Regions from separate parts of the Homo sapiens genome. Here regions 1 and 3 are each linked to region 2. The links are contacts of gene promoters, found by promoter capture Hi-C in blood cells and fetal thymus (Javierre and others, 2016). All regions are on one chromosome and are shown on one strand. The core of a region is centred on a gene start or on the middle of the fragment in contact, and the rest is flanking DNA. Distances in the headings are between cores, read along the strand shown.

Region 1 (2,700 bases), core at 144-2,643, 760 kb before region 2:
CTCCTGAGCTCAAACCGTCTGCCCACTTTGGCATCCCAAAGTGCTGGGTATAAATTTTTTTATATTAAAAATTAAAAAAAATAGAGAAGGGGCTTTGCCATGTTGCCCAGGCTGGTCTTGAACTTCTGAACTCAAGCAATCCTCCTGCCTTGGCCTCCCAAAGTACTGGGATTACAAGCGTGTGCCACCATACCCAGCCAAGGATGCTTAATGTCATTAGATAAATAAAAATTAAACCTACAGCAAGATACCACTACATACTTTTAGAATGTCTAACAAGTGTTGGACATATGGATCTAGAACTCTCATTCACTTCTGGTGGGAATGTGAAATGGAATAACCACTTTGTGTTTTTCTCTTTTTTTTGAGATGAGTCTCACTCTGTCACCCAGGCTGGAGTGCAGTGGTGTACTCTCAGCTCACTGCAACCTCCTCCTCCTGGTTCTCCTGCCTCAGTCTCCCAAGTAGCTGGGATTACAGGCACCCGCCATCATGCCTGGCTAATTTTTGTACTTTTAGTAGAGACAGGGTTTTGCCCTGTTTGCCCGGCTGGTCTTGAACTCCTGACCTCAGGTGATCCGCCTACCTCAGCCTCCCAAGGTGCTGGGATTACAGGCATGAGCCACCATGCCTGGTCTGGAACAACCACTTTGAAAAATAGTTTGGGTCTATGGCCATATCACCCTAAACACACCTGATCTCATCTGAAAAAGTTTGGCAGTTTCTTAAAAAGTTGAACATACACCCACTGTTTGACACAACCATTTCACTGCTATTAATCCAAATAAAAGGGTACATTCATACAAAGACTTGCACACCCATGTTGATAGAAGTTTTGTTTGTTATAGCCAGAAACTGAAAAGTGAACAATGGAGGAATGGATTTAAAAAATTGCAGTATATCAATACAATGGAATTCTACTCAGCAATGACAAGAAATGAACTACTGATCTATTCAGCAACATGGGTGAATTTCAAAATAGTTAAGCTTGACTGTGTAACTTCCAGACCAGTTTTATCTGGCCATACTTTCTTGATAACAGGATGTCTAATTATTTTGCAAGCACAGAGCTAAGAAGTGAAATCGTACCCCAAAGGGTTAAACAGGTGACTAACAGGAATTCTTTTTTTTTGAGATAAAATTTTGCTCTGTCCCCCAGGCTGGAGTGCGGTGGTGTGATCTCAGCTCACTGCAACCTTGTCCCGGGTTCAAGCGATTCTCCTGCCTCAGCCTCCGGAGCAGCTGGGATTATAGGCGTCTGCCACTATGCCCAGCTAATTTTTGTGGTGTTAGTAGAGACGGGATTTCACCATGTTGGTCAGCTGGTCTCGAACTCCTGACCTCAGGTGATCCAGCCACCTCGGCCTCCCAAAGTGCTGGGATTACAGGCGTGAGCCACCACACCCCGCCAGGAATTCTTGAGCTTACATGATGGCAGATAAGACAAGAAACATTTTGCAGAAACTCCCTTTAATTATAAGAGAACGAAACTGGCTGAAATCAGTTGGAACCAACATGGCCAACTGGAGTCTGTGCAGAAAGAGGCTGCTGACATCACAGTCTGAACTTCCGCAGCATGTTCCATATTCACTCTCGCATCCTGGATTTGCACATGCAACCCATCAAGAGACAACTGTGCATGCCCAAGGACTTTCCAGACCTCCCCTTTCTTTCTACCTGTTGATCCCTAACTCATCCCCTAAACCTTCCTAATAAATGTACTGCCTTAAGGCCAGCATGGGGAGATAGACTTGATCTGGCCTCCTGTCTCCTTGCTGGTCAACTGGCAATAAAGCTTTCCTTTTCTCAAAATCTCATGCCATAGTATTGGCCTCTATGCTCATCATGAAGTGACCCCTTGGCCTCAGTAACTGTCCTCTACCCTGAGAAAAAGCAGATAGTATATGATTCCTTAACATATAATTCTACAGGACGCAAACTAATCCACGGTGACCAAAAGCAGATTCACTGTTATCTGAGGGACTGATACGGTAGGCTGTGACTGGGAGGAAGGATTATAAATGAGCAGAAGGAAACTTTTATGTTCATTCTCTTGATTGTGGTGGTGGTTTCAGGGATGTATACACACATATGTAAAAGGCAAACTGTATGCTTTAAATATGTACAGGCTTTACACCAGCACTTCAATAAGGCTGTTTAAAATTTTAAAAGGTGTGGGAAAGAACACAGGCCACACATGTGGTGGTGGAAATGGCCCAGGCTTTGCTATTAAAGTTGCGCTAGTGTCCTTTGTCAAGTCACTTAGAACTCTCAGCTGCAAAGATAACACCGCCCTGGCAGGGATTAAGAAATAGTGTACAGGCCAGGCGCAGTGGCTCACACCTGTAATCCCAGCACTTACGGAGGCCGAGGAGGGTGAATCACTTGAGGTCGGGAGTTCAAGCCCAGTCTGGCCATTATGGCAAAACTCTGTTTCTATTAAAAGTACAAAAATTAGCCAGGCGTGGTGGCAGGCACCTGTAATCCCAGCTGAGGCGATCACTCGAATCCGGGAGGCAGAGGTTGCAGTGTGCCGAGATTGCGCCACTGCATTACAGCTTGGGCGACAGAGTGAGACTCTGCCTCCGAAAAAAAAAAAAAAAGAAGAAAGTCAAGAAAAAAGAAATAGTGAACAGGCCGGATGCGGTGGCTCACGCCGGTAATCCCAGCACTTTTGGAGGCCGAGGTGGGAGATCTTTT
Region 2 (2,827 bases), core at 309-2,808:
AAACCATCTCTCCAAGATCAGACAGCCTTGCAGACAGACATGATGTGATCTTGAGAATTTAAAGGATATTCTCAATGAAGTTTTGTTTCCATCTACTTTTTTTAAAAGCAGGTATTAAAAATAACTGAACCAGCCAAGTGTGCCCACCAAAAGCAGGAATCAAGAAGCTGAAATATGCTTCAGCTCCCTTGTACCCTGTAATTATTTAGCCTTGTTTACAGCAACTTTTTCCAGAAGCAGAATCGACCTTATGAACAGCTTATCCCAAATACTACTCAAGGGCTAACAGATGACCACATCTTAAATATCAAGAGCTTCTAGGTGTAGAATGTCTTCGTAAAGCAAGCCCTTATAGGATTTTCTTTTAAAATTTTCTCTGGGAGTCACATTTCTTTGGGAGAAGTCTGCCTTAAGTGACAACCTATTCATATAAGCAGTCAATTCTGACACAACTACCAATTTTGGTGTCACCCATCAACATTGAGACCTTTCTAAATCTTATACATTTCAGGATGCCAGATTACAGTATAAACTTCAAACAAGAGGAAAACCCAACACGTAAACCTGCGGAAGAGAAGCAACACACCAGCTGCCCTGGAAAACACTCTCCTCCCCCCGCGACACATGCATTTCCATCCTTCGCATCTGGTCACCTCCGCTGGCTGTCGGCCCTGCTCCGCTCCCTCCAACTATGCCTGCGAAGTGCTTCATTTCTTCTCTATTCGACCCGTAGGTGTTGCGTGTTCTTCTAAACTACGTTCAACAGTAAAGTGCAGGACATTCCAACAGCTCCACAAAGAAGCAAAATATTATCTCTGCAAAGTCATGCATTTAAAAACCAGTTGCTTTCCCTATTTTATTGATCAGTCTTTGAACTTCTGAACAGATTTTCGATCACCGCAAGCTGAGCCCTTCTAGAAGATCAGGATTCTAAAGCTCGACTCGGTCCACCTTCTGCTATTCTGGGAACACCCTTCATCCCCAGGGGCCAATGCGAGCCTGGCGGGTCACAGCGCCCGTTTCACCGAGAGGGGGCCGGGCTCCGCAGGGGGCATTCCCCGGCCGTTCGCGCGCTCCCGGCCCGCCGCGAGGGGCGCCCCGGGCAGCGCGGGGGTCGACGGGCGGCGCCGCAGCGCTGGGCCGCGGCCAGGAATGAGCTCAGCGTCCCCGCCGGGTGTTGCCGGCAGGTTGCATCAGACGCCGCGCGGCGCCGCCGCCCGCGCCTCCAGCCTCGCGTGGCCTTCCCGGGCCAGCGGGCCGTCTGGGGCCGGGGCTGGGTTTCCCCGAGCCGGGCCCGCACCCAGTCGAGCGGCCGGCGTCGCCGCGGCCTCCTCCTCCCCGTTCTCAGGGCGCCCGCCGCAGCCTCCTTACCTGCTCCTCTAGCCCGCCTGCCCCCAGGCGGCCTCCACTCCGAGCGGCCCCGCGCGGTGCGGCCCGAGCCGACCCAGGCCTCACAGCCCGCGAGTCAGCGAGGAGGAGCGACGGTTACGAAACCGGCAGCCTCCGCCCGTTCCGCAGCCGCGGCCACCGGCTTCCCCTGCTCGCCGGGGCCGCGCGCGCCGCCGCCGCCATCCCGGCCAATGGGAGCGCCGGCCTGCCGGAGGCACCGCCTTCTCTCGCGACGGGCAGCCCAGTCGACCAATCGTGGGCAGGCTGGCGGCGGGAGGCGGGCCCACGGTGGGGGAGTGGGTTCCGCGCGGCTGGCTCGGCGGGTGTGGCGGGAGCAGGGAGCTGCTTGCTGCGGCGTCCGCGGTCCCTAGGCAGCTCGCCCGGGCTGGCGGCGGCCTAGTGCTGTGGACGACTCAAGTTCGAGTCGGAGGCTGAAAAGCCGTCACCTTGTGGAGGCCAGACGTGCCTTTGGAAGCATTTTCTGAGGTGGTTTTGTGAACCACCGGCGACTGTTTTGGTTTCGCCGCGTCCCTTGGAAGCCCCCGCGGCGTCCCTCACAGAGTTTCTGCGAACGGAACGCCCCGCAGGCGGGCGGGCTTTGTCGCCGCAAAAAGAGTGGAGGCTGACGCGGTGGCTCCCGCCTATAATCTCAGCGCCGAGGGAGGCCGAGGCGGGAGAATGGCTTGAGCCCAGGCGTTGGAGAACCAGCCTGGACAACATAGCGAGACCCCATCTCAGTTACTAATTTTTAAAAAATCGAATGAACCCAGATGTTTCACACATAGGATTAGCATTGATGTCACATGGGTGAAATCCATGTGCTGCAGGCTGTGCTTTGTTGTTAGGGTGAGATGAAGTGAATTTCTTAAAATGATTCTCTTTGGGTGCCTTCCAGGTGCATGGGTGCGAGGTGATCTCTGAAAATAAGCAGCGATCCAGTGTGACTTAAAACTCGCCAGGAGAACCCGAAAGCGTTTTTTTTTTTTTTTTTTTTGAGACGGAGTCTCGCTCTGTCGCCCAGGCTGGAGTGCAGTGGCGCAATCTCGGCTCACTGCAAGCTCCGCCTCCCGGGTTCACGCCATTCTCCTGCCTCAGCCTCCCAAGTAGCTGGGACTACAGGCGCCCGCCACTACGCCCGGCTAATTTTTTGTATTTTTTTAGTAGAGACGGGGTTTCACCGTTTTAGCCGGGATGGTCTCGATCTTCTGACCTCGTGATCCGCCCGCCTCGGCCTCCCAAAGTGCTGGGATTACAGGCGTGAGCCACCGCGCCTGGCCCCGAAAGCGTTTTAACACCAGGAAGCAGCAGCTCGCTGGGCGGAGGGCAGAACTCGCCTGATAGGTTTAATTGCTTCCTCTTTAGCAACGCGTATCGTTCAAACAATTGAGGCTTTGAAAGAGGAAATGTTTCTTCAGCGCCCATGGAACCGGCTCGCCCC
Region 3 (2,700 bases), core at 129-2,628, 790 kb after region 2:
AAAAGATTTCTACCAATTTTAGCAAGACATTTGTGTCTTTAAAGCAACTTAGCGTGAACTAAAAGGGTGGGAATGGAGTCAAGAGCCTATAAAAATTAGAACCCTCCCCCAACAGATTCAGCCTTTCTCCCCAAACTTTCACGTGTTTGACAAAAGGAAAATGTCTCTGGGCTGAAAAATATGTGTGGTAGATGTATACTCAACATTAATCTTTAAAGTATCCATCTTTTCATTTGCCACAAGCATCTGGGGACACTTACTTTCACTGTTGTTGTCTTTTCTGTTTGTTGGCTTACTTTTTTAAGGATTTCTATTAAACCTTGTTCTGATACCTAGGAGAACCAGAAAAGATAAGAAAAACAGTACTTTTTTAAACAAAGAATTTACCTCTGCAGATGGAATCACTTTGTACTCTTTTTGAGGTGTGGGGAAAGAGCTCAGGAAGGAAGCAGTGGTGAGGCAGGAGGTTGAAACTATTGGTTATAACTATTGGTTTAAGTTCCAAATAAAATTTGCTCTGCTATTCCTCACTTGAGAAGGAGGGGGAAGTATCCATAAAATTGCTTCCTCAGGAAAACTGAAAGCTAACATATTTAAGAACACCTTTATCATCACTAGCTGAGTGTGACAACCACATATACCACGGTGTTTGGTGTCAGGAATAGACACACCACTTCTGCCCGAGAAGCTTAAACATCCCCTTGAAGGAGGTAAGTCACACTCGGAAAAGATCAACCCAACCAGCTCTCTCCCACACAAGCAGTTCTCAGTGTGAGGGGTTTAGGGGACAGGACCAATTCGGGTAGGCTGTGGTGGTAGCAGACGGCTTCTCAGGGCAGGTGGGGTTCGTCTTGATCTCAAAGGCCAGGTTTGCCACAACATACCCCTCATGGTATTACAGCAACACAGAGAACATAAGCAAGGCATCTTAGCACCTTCTCATCTGCAAAACACACCTTCTACTTACACTGGTAGTATTTTAATTGGTGTTACTGACAAACCTTGCTTCCAGTGCAGGGGCAATTGAAGCTAGCTGACCCTAACAGTCATTGGGTCACAGACACCAACAAGGTTCCAGAGCAACGCCAGGAAAGGAGCGAAGCAGAGGAATTTAGGAAAGGCAATTTATTCTCTTTTAAAGTAGGTATGACTATTCTCTCCAACAATTTCTTCTGAGAGTCAGCAAGAATTCTGTAATCCAGTGAAGATGCAGCTGACCTTTTGAAGCCATGTTTTGATAAAGCAGGTAACAGTAAAGTTCCTCAAGGCTGTCTAAGCTTACCTTCTCACTTAGTTGTCCATATCTTGCCATCTGTATAAGGTAATTCTCTACTGCTTTAGTTTTTTCAGGCTTTACAAGTGCTAAGTTACTTACTAAAAAGAAAAAATACATATGCAAAAAATCCATTAAAATCAAATGCACTTATGTTATACCTTAAAACTATGCATTGACCTTTCCAAAGCACTTCACAAGCTTGTCCCTCAGTGTAGGGCAAGACAGTATTGTTACTCCTCTTAAAAATGAGAAAACTGAAGTTCACCCATGCCAATCTCCACATGGGCACATGGGGGTAGTGGCCCAGCCAAGATTAAAGTTGGGTTCTCAGATTCTAAGCACCATGCTTCCTGTTTCTTAAAATATATGACTGCCCTCTGGAAAGCGGTTTATCTATTACACATAATGGTGGTGATCCACCTGTGGCCGCCTTTTCTACACTCAAACTGGGCTTCCAGTTAAAATACAGAAAATACCAGTTCATTCTGACTGTCTCATTTTTTCTTTCTACAGGTTTTGGTTTTTATGATGAACAACTCTGAACATACACTAAAACTGACAATACATATAAAAAGCCCCTAAGTCCCCCATCCCCAGTCCCCATCACCAGTTGACACAAAATGTCAACTACCAGCAACATTTTGTGATTGGCCCTATGAGTTGTTTCCTATAAATCTTACCTAATACACACCTGGAGAACATCTTGGTAAGAGAAGTGACCTGGTACTTTTACTAGGGATTAAAGTACAGTTCTCTAGGTTTATAAACTTCACACTTCTTACACATCTCAAGTGTTTTCAGCCTAAGCAAATATTTCATCTAGTGATAGCAATAATGGTATCTAATCACCCCATTCAACTAACTCAAGCTAACTTTATGGAAATGAAATCAAAGATGCTTACACCTGGCCCGGGCCGACTGATCCAGAACTTGGGCTAAGATACTGTTTCTCATTTCTGCTTCCCTACAACGAAAACATAGGTCAAACACAATTAAAACACAGCTGTCGGCATTCCCATGTAACATACGAGAAAGAACCCATCCAGTATGTGTCTCCACATGGGGCCTGCGGTATACAAACTGCATTATGGTAGTTGCTGTACATAAGGCTGCAGCTACATTCAAGTAGAATCCCCTTTTGCCCTCAAAGAACCAGCTTTATATTACACAGGTGACAACCTACCAGGCTGGAAGGTGAGCTTTACAGTTTCATCAGAGTGGAGCCTCAGTTCAAACACCATCACCAACATTTCTTAAGTACCTATTGCGTGACAGGTGCTAGAAATTTATAGTGGGATTTCAGGCAATTAGAAGGACCATGTGACTAATCTATATCATTTTCTTAGAGATAAAGCTGAGATCCAGGAGGCTATGCTAAAGAGACATAGGTAACTGTGGCCAAGCTACAGCCAGATTCCATGTTT

What was found. The method cuts DNA at HindIII sites, captures the fragments that hold promoters and counts their contacts. A CHiCAGO score of 5 or more calls a contact.
Region 1: a fragment that was not itself captured here is called in contact with the fragment with the promoter of CEBPG in region 2 in 2 of 17 cell types (M0 macrophages and total B cells); the score reaches 6.5 in M0 macrophages.
Region 3: a fragment that was not itself captured here is called in contact with the fragment with the promoter of CEBPG in region 2 in 1 of 17 cell types (fetal thymus); the score reaches 5.0 in fetal thymus.

The regions. Positions count from the first base shown.
Region 1 is chr19:34,135,309-34,138,008 of GRCh38, reverse strand. No RefSeq gene overlaps it. Among named protein-coding and RNA genes, the nearest start is that of LSM14A, 36 kb to the left of the region's middle. The HindIII fragment of the contact is 808 bases long and covers 990-1,797 here.
Region 2 is chr19:33,372,440-33,375,266 of GRCh38, reverse strand. It overlaps CEBPG (CCAAT enhancer binding protein gamma), which reads right to left and starts at 1,558. Exons shown (of 2, transcript NM_001806.4): 1 at 1,372-1,558. RefSeq lists a silencer at 962-1,771. The HindIII fragment of the contact is 8,186 bases long and covers 1-2,827 here.
Region 3 is chr19:32,584,490-32,587,189 of GRCh38, reverse strand. PDCD5 (programmed cell death 5) reads right to left here. Exons shown (of 6, transcript NM_004708.4): 3 at 2,179-2,240; 4 at 1,283-1,374; 5 at 261-332. Among named protein-coding and RNA genes, the nearest start is that of PDCD5, 4.6 kb to the right of the region's middle. The HindIII fragment of the contact is 197 bases long and covers 1,280-1,476 here.